Regions from separate parts of the Homo sapiens genome. Here region 2 is linked to region 1. Evidence: promoter capture Hi-C in 16 types of primary human blood cells and fetal thymus (Javierre and others, 2016). All regions are on one chromosome and are shown on one strand. Each heading gives the region's core, a stretch centred on a gene start or on the middle of the fragment in contact. The rest is flanking DNA. Distances are from core to core; before and after follow the strand shown. Region 1 holds the start of GOLPH3L (golgi phosphoprotein 3 like). Region 2 overlaps RPRD2 (regulation of nuclear pre-mRNA domain containing 2).

What was found. The method cuts DNA at HindIII sites, captures the fragments that hold promoters and counts their contacts. A CHiCAGO score of 5 or more calls a contact.
Region 2: a fragment that was not itself captured here is called in contact with the fragment with the promoter of GOLPH3L in region 1 in 1 of 17 cell types (total CD8 T cells); the score reaches 5.1 in total CD8 T cells.

What each region holds. Positions count from the first base shown.
Region 1 is chr1:150,694,482-150,700,508 of GRCh38, reverse strand. GOLPH3L (golgi phosphoprotein 3 like) reads left to right here and starts at 3,355. Exons shown (of 5, transcript NM_018178.6): 1 at 3,355-3,517; 2 at 5,659-5,853. The coding sequence starts at 5,671. HORMAD1 (HORMA domain containing 1) reads left to right here. Exons shown (of 15, transcript NM_032132.5): 14 at 326-397; 15 at 1,775-2,449. The coding sequence ends at 1,855. The HindIII fragment of the contact is 16,001 bases long and covers 1-6,027 here.
Region 2 is chr1:150,371,960-150,377,986 of GRCh38, reverse strand. The region is part of intron 1 of RPRD2 (regulation of nuclear pre-mRNA domain containing 2); the gene reads right to left. Among named protein-coding and RNA genes, the nearest start is that of RPRD2, 11 kb to the right of the region's middle. The HindIII fragment of the contact is 536 bases long and covers 1,913-2,448 here.

The sequences.
Region 1 (6,027 bases), core at 2,106-4,605:
TGGGTGAATCATATAGTATCTAAATTATATCTCAATAAAGCTGTTTTTTAAAAAAATTGTATATCCAGCTGGGCACTGTAGCTCATTCCTGTAATCCCAGCACTTTGGCAGGCTGAGGCAGGAGGATCCCTTGAGGCCAGAAGTTTCAGGCTGCAGTGAGCCATGATGGTGCCACTGCATTCCAGCCTGGGTGACAGAGGGAGACCCTGTCCCTAAAAAGTAAATAAATAAATAAATATTGCATATCGTTGCATAAGATTGAAAAATCAAGTGTTGGCTGTTCTTTGAGAAATAACCAATTAGTAATTATTCTATCTTTGTGGAGGCAAATGGAAATCAACCAGTAAAATCTTCCAAAGAAAATCGGAAGAGAAGTCAACATGAATCTGGGAGAATAGTAAGTCTTATGATAATGTATAGTTTGAATACAATGGGAAGGATCAGAATATCATTACTACAGATTAAATTTAAAATGATGAATTTGATATCTTTCGATGTACCTGAGAGTTCTGATATTCAAATTTTGTTTAAATATATTTTGTTCTAAAAATCGAGGTGATTTTGAAATAAGATGCCCTATGTTGGTTTATTAGTTTTTTCCATGTAAACATCTCCTGTCTCATTCCATGAATGATTTAAAGTAATTGGAGGAATTTATAATATATAAATTAAAAATCAGCTGGGTGCAGTGGCTCATGCCTGTAATCCCAGCACTTTGGGAGACTGAGGCAGGTGGATCACGAGGTCAAGAGATCGAGACCCTCCTGGCCAACATGGTGAAACCCTGTCTCTACCAAAAATACAAAAAAAAAAAAAAATAGCTGGGCGTGGTGGCGCACGCCTGTAGTCCCAGCTACTCGGGAGGGTGAGGCAGGAGAATCGCTTGAACCTGGGAGGTGGAGGTTGCAGTGAGCCAAGATCGCGCCACTGTACTACAGCCTGGCGACAGACCAAGACTCCGTCTTTAAAAAAAAAAAAAATCAGTGCCAGGAAAAATATAAGAGAATATAGAATGAGAAAGTGACAGTACAAGAATACTAAGGCCATTTTGTTTATATAGAACTGAAATTGGGCCACAAATTTGATCTGAGCTTTCTAGAGATCAAAACTGAAGTAGAAGGAGGATAATTTACTAAATACATGTGTTCCCTAAAAATATAGGGTCTCCTCCTAGTACCTCTGGAGAAAAAAATATTTTCCTGACTTAAACCCTATAGTTGTTTCATATTTAGAACCTTATTTTACCAAATCAGATAATGTATTTGCCATTTCTGAGATAATTATTCATATTTTTCCAACTAGATATTTTAGTATTATTAGTAGGTTAGAATTAAACAACTGAAAACCTAAGACTATTTTTAAAACTCAAATGTTAACGTCTCAAGAGTACAAAAGCAAGACATGATTTAAATCGTACATGATTCCAAGGTAGAATGTTTTTCTATTTGTAGTTCATTTTAAAATCTTTTTTCCCTTCTTATTGCTCTGAAATATTTGGCTATTTTGAGGACATAATGTTAAATCTATCTTCTCACTTCTAGAGCAGCCCTACTGAAGATTATACATTTTGCAAGTACATACTTTCAGCAGCCATTGGAAGATGTTAATAATAAATTTTACTCTACTTTTAAGAAACCCAGATATAGTTATGCTAGGTATGCTAGGCATAAATTTTTTTAAAAAGAAGAGAAATCTCAGATACATGAAAAAATCTACAATTAAAGACATTTAAACAGGAAAGTATCTATTCTTAGTAGTTGTTTTCTTTTGACAGGTCCTCCATCACTTTGATTCTTCTAGTCAAGAGTCAGTGCCAAAAAGGAGAAAGTTTAGTGAACCAAAGGAACATATATAAAAATTATTTTTGTTCTGCAGGCTTGCAGAGTTCTTCTCACCATTTAAACTGAAGGACCCTATATTATATTTCCCTAACTCTGAAGATGTATATGTAGTTTAAAGCAGTTTGTACACTAAAACTAAGTTTTTGGCTGACTGTCATATTGTGGTCCTTAATCTTGAGATAAATCCAATAGAACTTTTGAATAAAAGCAAAAGTACAAATGTCATAATTGATTCGGTAATAAGTAAAATTTCAAAATTGATTTTGTTCATTACCTACTTAATATTTCCTTTAAATATATACTAACTGTTAAGGCCCTCTAATGCCATTTTTCTAAACAGTAATGTTTACTTTGGTATTAAAATTTGGTATGGATTCACTTTTTACTTATGTTAAAATTATACCATTTAACTGGCTCTTTTGTCATTGTGCTGTTATTAAAACAATGTTCTTCAATATTTTGACATAATGTATTAACATTTTAATATATAATGTACAATTTAAGAATTGGTGCTTTACCTTTACTATGCTTTTTTTTACAGGACAAAAAGACTGATTTTTAAAGTATGGCATTTTTTGCAGCATAAATAAAATATTGTTCAGTACGTAGGCCCTTTTATCGCTTCTAATTTTTATTTAAGTAGCAGGAAATATGGCTTCATTCATTTGAAAGGCTGGTAGGAGGATGGGGGGATAGGGAATACTAATTTTTAGATGATTTCGGTAGCTATTACTTTGCAAGAAGAGTTGAGCACACTTTCTAGAATTTTTGAGTGGTAGTATGAAAAATGCTGTGCTTTTAATGAGAAACCTGGGAGCTAGTTCCAGCCTTGCCTGCTTTCTTTGCTTTAGAAAAAGGAAGACTTAAAACTTGGTCTGTTTGCCGCTTGTAGTTTCAGCAGCCATATTCCAAAAACATACACATCCATGGGTTTGTCAGTAATAAGCGCTATAGGGAATGCTGGTACATATGCGATGGTAGAAATGTATTCATCCTGTTTAAGGTAAACCATATAAACGTACACAAACTGACCCAGATCATGTTTTTCTGGAACAGTCAAGTCAAGGATAAACTGACTGTCAGAAACAACCAATGTAAAAATATTTATTTATTTTTAGCTGTATTGCTTGGATCCCAACACATCTCACTTAATTGTCCCAGTATACGCTACTACAGCAACACACCTGCTACGCTGAAATTAACCCACAGAAACCTTTCGAGATTGGCAGCCCATGTTAGCTCACTCAGCGCTTTGATTGGCTGGTTTAATGGGGGTGGGGAGCGCAGCCCTCTTTCCTCTCTTCCACCAAGGTTCCTTCATTGGATTGACCAGCTGTCAGGTTGAACGCAAACCTGCCTCCTTTTGGTGGTGTTTGTCTGGATCGCAACAGAATAGCTGGGGGAGAGCCTCCCCCTGTGAGCTCCGATTGGCGGGACTCAACCTTGGTGATTTCTGATTGGCGCAATGAAGAAACACCAAGGTAGGTTGCCTAGTGATCCTGAGGAAGCTGATGTGTTATTCCTTCTCTGCATCGAAGGATCAGGAAGTTTGTGCTCTCTGCGTGGCTAAGTTTTTCACCTACTAGGACGGGGGTGGGGTGGGGAGAACAGGTGTCCTTCTAAAATACAGCACAAGCTACAGCCTGCGTCCAGCCATAACCCAGGAGTAACATCAGGTAAGCAACGAGAAAATTACATTTCCTAACGTCCCTTCCCCCCACCAAAAAAAACCTCTATTTTTTAAAATTATTATTTTATGGGAGGGAAAGGTTTGTATTCATTTGGGCCATTTGTTTTCTTTCAAGTAGGATTTTTAACTAGTAAATGTGCAGATGAAACTAATTTCTCAAAGAAACCGCCCCCTCTCCCCCTCCCCCCCTGCCCCGCGAAGGTTTAAAGTTTCTTGGATTGGTTTAGGAAATAGTCCCTATTCACAGTGCCAGATAGGCTTAGTGCGCTTAAGAATTTATTTCATGGTTCTCTTCCTCCTTCACTTTTCTTCCCACCTCCCATAACAAATTATATTTGAAATATACCCTTGTACAAAAAAACTTTTGTAGCTCACTTCATTTGTATTTCTATTTTAAATGTTCACATGCACTTCTGAGTATTCATTTTAATCAATATAAATTTATCGAGCAATAACAATGTTAAAGACAGTGCTAGTTGCTATGGAGAATATATAAACCCAAGAAGACAATATCCCTGTTCTTAAGAAGTTTACAGTTGAGAGACAGCTATACCAAGAGAAAGACTATAATAAATACTTTAAAGGAAGTGAGTATAAATAAAGCTCTGTGAAACAGCTGAGGGAGTGGCCATGAGACACATAGGTAATAGAAAAGAGGAGGTCACTTAAAGGCCTTCACAAGGCCTTTAAAGAATGGGTAGAATGTAAAGAGGAAGAGAAAAGGGTGAAGACCCCAGCAAGTACAGAGGAGCAGAAGCAGAAAGAAAGCATGAGACATTTTTGAGAAAAAGTCTGGCAACACTACTTATTAGGAGCAATGGGAAATATTGCTAGAGGAGTAGAAACGAGTCCAGTCATAGCAACTCTTAAATACCATTATTTTGATCTTGAAAAAGATACTCCTTTATATAATTGCTGATTTAAAATATTTGTTATATATTATCTTAAAAACTGATATCTAGATTTATATAAAATAAAGTATGCTAACTATAAACTTTATCACAAATGATTTAGTGCAGTTTCTTTTGACCGTAGTACATAGAATAAAAGACATGTTCTTTGACTTTTTTTTTTAAATTGAGAAAATTTGTTAATCTTTCAACACTCTCTTGCCAGTAATTTTTGTTTGCAGCTCCTTGTGTATTTGCAAGATATGGCTAGCTAGGACTAGAGCTGCTAAGTTTACTGACTGTGGAATTACTACACATGATTTTCTGAATGTTATCGTCTAGACTTGTGATCTCCAAAGTGAGTACATGAAATGAGTCATTAGGGTATGGGAAGGAAATATAGAACATGTATTTCTATTTAGTTTTTCGTATTCTTTTTTACTTTCTATTTTTTGTGTTTTTTTATAATGTAGTACCATGGAACGTTTATAGAAATTAGATACAAATTATTATATGCATTTTGGGGCTGGATGCTCACAATTTTTTGTTGTTCCATCTTACTTAACTTGGGATCCATTTTGTGAAAGAGGAGTGACAATGGTGGATATTCACTCCTTCTTTATAGATTATGCAGAAAAAATCAGCAGGTTTGGCCGGGCCTGGTGGCTCATGCCTGTAATCCTAGCACTTTGGGAGGCCCAGGCAGGCAGATCACTTGAGGTCAGGAGTTCAAGACCAGCCTGGCCAACATGGTGAAACCCCATCTCTACTAAAAATACAAAAATTAGCCAGACATGGTGGCGCACACCTGTAATCCCAACTACTCAGGAGGCTGAGGCACAAGAATCACTTGAACCTGGGAAGCGGAGGTTGCAGTGAGCCAACATCGCACCACTGCACTCCCAGCCTGGGCAACAGAGCAAGACTCCCTCTCAAGAAAAGAAGAAGAAAAAGAAAAAAAGAAGTCAACAGGCTTGAAAGATGAGCATTTCTACTGGACTTTAGAATTACTCATTTGATCTTTTGTCAGTGCCATCTGTGAAGTCCAAGCTATTGTACTTTGGAAAAGATACTGTATTACCCACCCATTTTTTTCTGGTCATTACTCCTTCCTTTCTTTCTATATTTAAATCTGTAAATATTTCCTATTTGTATGGATGTTTAGTATGCATGTATGAATATATGATTTATTTACATAAGCATACATATGGATTTTTTTTTTCACCACTCCCTCCAGAAACAGGTGAGAATGACCACTTTAACTCACCGGGCCCGTCGCACTGAAATAAGCAAGAACTCTGAAAAGAAGATGGAAAGTGAGGAAGACAGTAATTGGGAGAAAAGTCCAGACAATGAAGATTCTGGAGACTCTAAGGATATCCGCCTTACTCTTATGGAAGAAGTATTGCTTCTGGGACTAAAAGATAAAGAGGTAATGCAGTTAGGTTTGCTAGGCTATCTCAAAGACTATTAAATATTGGAATGTTTTAGGAAGTAACCTAATGGAATATATTTAATAATAAATTGGTCTTAGAATTGTGCTCTAACCATCTGGAAGATGGAGGAGTTGGGACAGTGACCGATACTTGGAGGGTAAAAATCCAGA
Region 2 (6,027 bases), core at 931-3,430, 320 kb after region 1:
GCCACTCTGAAACCAGGCACGTTTCCTTTTCCTACACTATAAATGTTCTGACAATTTCCCCAAAATAATCAATTTACTTCTCTGAGACTCAATTTATAAATTTTTAATAAATTTATAAATTCAACTGTTACACATCTATATTTTATAAATTCATATTTTTTATAAATTTACAAATTCATATTTTGCAGAGCTGACATCAAGATTATAGGTAATACATGTATGATAGCTAGTAAGGATCCTCAGTAAACAATAAGGATCCAGCAATCCAACCAAAGTGATACCTATTCTAAACTGTTAGAGCATATAAAACTCATATTATTATACTTCCCAGAACCAGTTATATGTGTTCAATTCCTATCTTACTTACTAAATGTTTTTTTTTTTTTTTTGAGACGCAGTCTTGCTCTGTCGCCCAGGCTAGAGTGCAGTGGTACGATCTCGGCTCACTGCCAGCTCTGTCTCCCAGGTTCACACCATCCTCCTGCCTCAGCCTCCCGAGTAGCTGGGACTACAGGCGCCCGCCACCACGCCTGGCTAATTTTTTGTATTTTTAGTAGAGACGGGGTTTCACCGTCAGCCAGGATGGTCTCAATCTCCTGACCTCGTGATCCGCCCGCCTCGGCCTCCCAAAGTACTGGGATTACAGGCGTGAGCCACCGCGCCCGGCCCATTTACTAAATGTTAAGTTCCTTATAATTCCATCTCTTTCAGCACCCAATACAGGGGTTTACATAGAGGAAGTACTCAATATTTCCTTTCTTTTTTTCTTTTTTTTTCTGGAGATAGTCTCGCTCTGTCACCAGGCTGGAGTGTAGTGGCGTAATCTCAGCTCACTGCAACTGCTGCCTCCTGGGTTCAAGCAATTCTCCTGCCTCAGCCTCCCGAGTAGCTGAGACTACAGGCACATGCCACCACGCTCAGCTAATTTTTGTATTTTTAGTAGAGACAAGGTTTCACCATGTTGGCCAGGCTGGTCTCAAACTCCTGACCTCAGGTGATCTCCCCACCTTGGCCTCCCAAAGTGCTGGGATTACAGGCGTGAGCCACAGCGCCCGGCCAGCACTCAGTATTTCTAAGTTCATTTTCTCATTCTGTATCTTTAGGCATAACATATTATAAGAGAATTTTAATCTTTCAAGTAATACTGCCTCCTAGACACAAAGATCATCATTTTAAAAGACTGTATCGGCCGGGCGCGGTGGCTCACGCCTGTAATCCCAGCACTTTGGGAGGCCAAGGCGGGCGGATCACGAGGTCAGGAGATCGAGACCATCCTGGCTAACACGGTGAAACCCCTTCTCTACTAAAAATACAAAAAATCAGCCGGGCGTGGTGGCGGGCGCCTGTAGTCCCAGCTACTCAGGAGGCTGAGGCGAGAGAATGGCGTGAACCCGGGAGGCGGAGCTTGCAGTGAGCCGAGATGGCGCCACTGCACTCCAGCCTGGGCAACAAACAGAGCAAGATTCCGTCTCAAAAAAAAAAAAAGACTGTATCATGCTACACTCTAAAACTATGATGACAGTAAAGGAACACAAAAACAGCTCAGGATCCATTCTAGGTTTTTTAAAACAAAAAATGTTAAGTTATAATCCCAAACATTAAAAGATCCTTTTTTCCTTTCACAGTGCAACTTTTACTAAAGGGTAATAAAGAATCACTCTCTCTCTCTGCTAATGGATTCCAGAGAACTAGAAAGTGCAAGTAAGTGAAATTAATTATAAGAGAAAGAAGTGAAGAAAGAGAGATGAGGGAGAGATCAAGGCCTCAATCAAACACTAGTAAAATTTAAACCCAGCAAACCAAACATTTTCATTTCCTTCATCAAAGAGCCTCTATTTCAATATTTCTCTAAAAACAAGAGAATAAGAATGAAGCATTTTTAAAAACTATCTTTATCTTAGCCAGAAAAGCTTTAATATTTCAAAGCACAGATGGAATTGTTGCCTTTTCTCAAAAGGAATAACTAGGTTCTACTACTTTCTCCCTAAGATGTACATTCCTCCAGTGTTCTATAATTAATATCTGTGGGGGCAGTGGAATTTGAAATCACTACGAAACACAACTACTTTTTGTTTCCTTGACAAATAGATGAGAAAGTCAGTCAAGCTGGTTTGTAAATTGTTCTGTTCTTGGGTAATTTTTATTAGGGTCTCTGAGTTCCTTCAACAAATTAAACCTCATGTATCCTTAATTCTCAATTGAAATTTTAAAACAACTGACCAAAATCTCCCCTTTTGACTTTTAAAAGTACTGCTGTAAAACAATAAACACCTGGAAAAAGTGGGAGGAAAAAAGAGAACATAACTGACAAAAGCCTAGGAGGAAGAAAGAATTTTGATGCAACTATTATTTATTAGTTTAAGAAAGGCAGGAAGCCAAATCATTAAGAGTAAAATCATTCAACCCAAGGAAGCTGATAACAACAAAAAAGAATAAAATCAGTAAGCTTCTACTCCCTAAAAAATTACGCACATACATACACTCGTCCCTCCTCTACAGACAAAACTAACATTAAAGTAATTCTGGGTGGCCTCTGTGAGCAAATTTTAATATTAGTGTTTTTCCACTGCTATTGTAATTTTCCTTTCAAGATACCTCCATGTCACAGAACCATGTGAAGTTTGTCAGTAGTGTTTCACACTTTTAGTTATGGGAATGTTTATTTGCTACAAAATTTACTCTTTAGCTTACTATGGAATTTGGTATAGTAAAATTATGTTTTACATATTGCTTCAAACCCACCTAAGGCCATGGATGAAATCACCCTTCTGCTGTAAGAGACTAAGCAGCTAAAAGGAAGAAGATAACAACTGCTTGGAAAGTCTCACAATACAGACAAAAAGGCTTAATATATACCATTACAATAATTATAGTTTATAATTAAGACAGTTCCATGTTTCGAAACATTGCCAGAAACCTGGAAAAATACCACCTATAACTCTATGAACCTAGAGCAATGGAATGAAAAAAAAAAAAGGTGACTTAGGCATCTAAAGGGGAGGGAGAGGGTGGATAATAACCAATTATAACAGAGCTCCTGCTCAATGAATACAGAAATGCCATTAAGCGTAAACCAAGAGTAAAAATACGCAAGAGACCAAAATAGATTTATTACTTCTTTGGGGGGCTGAGACAAAGTTTACCTTGAACCTCAAAAAGAACCTAAGCCAATAACACACTAGACTAAGTAGAAAGAGTCATCTAAAATACTAGAATGCCCCAACAGCCTTCTGAGAATAGAGAATAAACAAACTTAAAAGTGCTTTTCCTACATTCTCATTCAACAATCAACAAAGACTTCTTTGACCAAATGTATGAGAGTTCTCCCCACACACACCAAGCAAGCAATTCTGCAATGAACACCAGCTAGGTGCCCTCCAATTCAATTCTGACACTGGAAGAGAGCATCAGATCCCACAGACTGAGTGCTCAGTCTCACAAGACTGCCCCCCACTTCCCATGCCAATCACAAATCTCAGGTTAACATTTGCTCTGACCCAACCACCATAAATCGGGGCTCACACAACCCCCTTCTTGGGTTCCATTAATTTGCTTGAGCAGCTCACAGAACTCAGGGAAACACGTTTACTGGTTAATTATAAAGGACATAACAAAGGACACCAATGAACACCAGATGAAGAGATGGAGGGGGCAAGGTAGGGCTAAGAGTGCAGAGCTTCTAGGTTCTTTCTGGGCATGCCAACCTCCAGGAACCTCCATATGTTTTGCTGTCTAGAAGCTTCCCAAAACCAGTCCTTTTGGATTTTTATGGAAGTTTCGTTATGAAGGCATAATTAATTAAACCACTGGCCACTGGTGTTCAGTTTACCCCTTCAGCTCTTCTCCCTTCCCCAGAGGTTAGATGGTAGGGCGGAAAGTCACAACCTCTAGTCCTGCCTTATTCTTTCCAGTGACCAGCCCCCATCCTTAGGCTACCCAGGGGATGCCAACCATCAGTCAACTCATTAGCATACAAAATGACACTTATCACCTTGAAGACCCAAGGATTTTTGAAGTAGTATGCCAGGAAATGGGACAGAGACCAAATAGAGATTTCATAATACCATAGCCTTCTCTCTGGACCTCTTCTATATCTGTACTTGCTGCTCTATCTTACTAGACTTACTTCCCTATCTACACTCTCTCTCTAGTTGATCTCTTCCAGCTTCCTGGCTCTAAAAACAATCCATATACTAGACACGCTATGGTGATTGCTGAACAACTCTATGAATATACTAAAACAATTGAATTGTACACTTTAAATGAGTATATTTTTTGTGAATTATATCTTTAAAAAAGATTTCTTAAAATAGACATCCCAAACCTAACACATCCAAAACTAAATTTCTCATCTTCTTCCCAAAATCTGCTCCACTCACAGCCTTCCCCATATCAATAAATGTCAACTCTTATCTTTCTAGTTGCTCAAGCTAAAAAAAAAAAAAAAAAAAAAGTCATTCTTGATTATTCTCCTCCTCTCTCACCCCACATTTAATCCACCTAGAAATCTGGCTGGACCTACTTTCAAAATAGATCTAGAATTAAATTACTTATCACTTCCGCTGGCCATAACCTGGTCCAAGCCATCAATATTTTACACTGGATTACAATAGCCATCTAATTGGTATCCCTGTTCCAGCAGAAACAAGAATAACCTTTTAAAAACAAACGAGTGCCAGGCGTGGTGGCTCACGCCTGTAATCCCAGCACTTTGGGAGGCTGAGGCGGGCGGATCACTTGAGGTCAGGAGTTCGAGACCAGCGTGACCAATATGATGAAACCCTGTCTCTACTAAAAATACAAAAATTAGCTGGGCATGGTGGCATGCACCTGTAATCCCAGCTACTCAGGAGGCTGAGACAGGAGAATCGCTTGAACCCGGGAGGCAGAGGTTGCAGTGAGCCGAGATGGTGCCATTGCACTCCAGCCTGAGCAACAGAGCAAAATTCCGTCTCAAAAAAAAAAGAAAAAAAAAGAGTTCATCTCCTTTTGCTTAAATGGCTCACCATCTCACTCTGAATAAAAACCAAAGTCCTTACAATGCCTATAAAACCCTTGGTGAATCCCATTTCACCCCTCCCCAACACCACCCACCATAATCTCTTTGAACTCATCCACTAATCTTCATTTTAACAACTCCTTTCCAGTCACAGAAGCTTTCTTGCTGCTCCCTAAACTCACCAGGCACACTCTAACCTCAGGACTTTTGTTTTTTCTGTTCACTTAGTCTTGAACATGCCCACCTCATACCCTCATGTCTATATTGCTTAATATCATACCTCCTTACTCAGATGTCACCTTCTCAGTGAGGCCTTCCCTTACCATTTAATGTAAAACTGCAAACCCCTCTGTTTCCCCCTTCCCTGCTTTCTATTTCTCTAGAGCATTTATCGCCTTCTATTATGTTTAATATTTTACTTATCTGTTTGCTGTCTGTCTCCCCTTACTAGAGTATATGCTGTCTTTGTGTGTGTGTGTGTCTGTGTGTGTGTGTGTGTTTCTTTTTTCAGACGGAGTCTCACTCTGTTGCCCAGGCTGGCATGATCATGGCTCACTGCAACCTCTGCCTCCCGGGTTCAAGCAATTCTCCTGCCTCAGCCTCCCAAGTAGCTGGGACCACAGGTGTGCACCACCAAGCCCGGCTAAATTTTAAGCTCTGTGAAGGCAAAAAATTTTGTTCATTTTGTTCTCCTGCTGTATCCCCTGTGCCTAAACAATGCCTGGCACAGTAGGTGTTTGATAAATATTGAAAAAACTGAATGGAAACTAGGGATTTATAAACAAATTTCATCTTAGAGCTCAAAGTTAGGGTCTGTATCTACCCACCTGTATTACTAATTTGTTTATGTATGATATGTGATTAAAAAGCTGTATGCCTATGGCAATACTGTTACACTCTACAGGTCATCAATCTAAATGAACCTTACATTTAGAAAGGTTTTTACCTAGACGATAGCTTCAATAATTATGTTCCATTTTTTTCCCTTTTTTTAATTAATCAAAAACATAAATAAATGCCTATCAGAA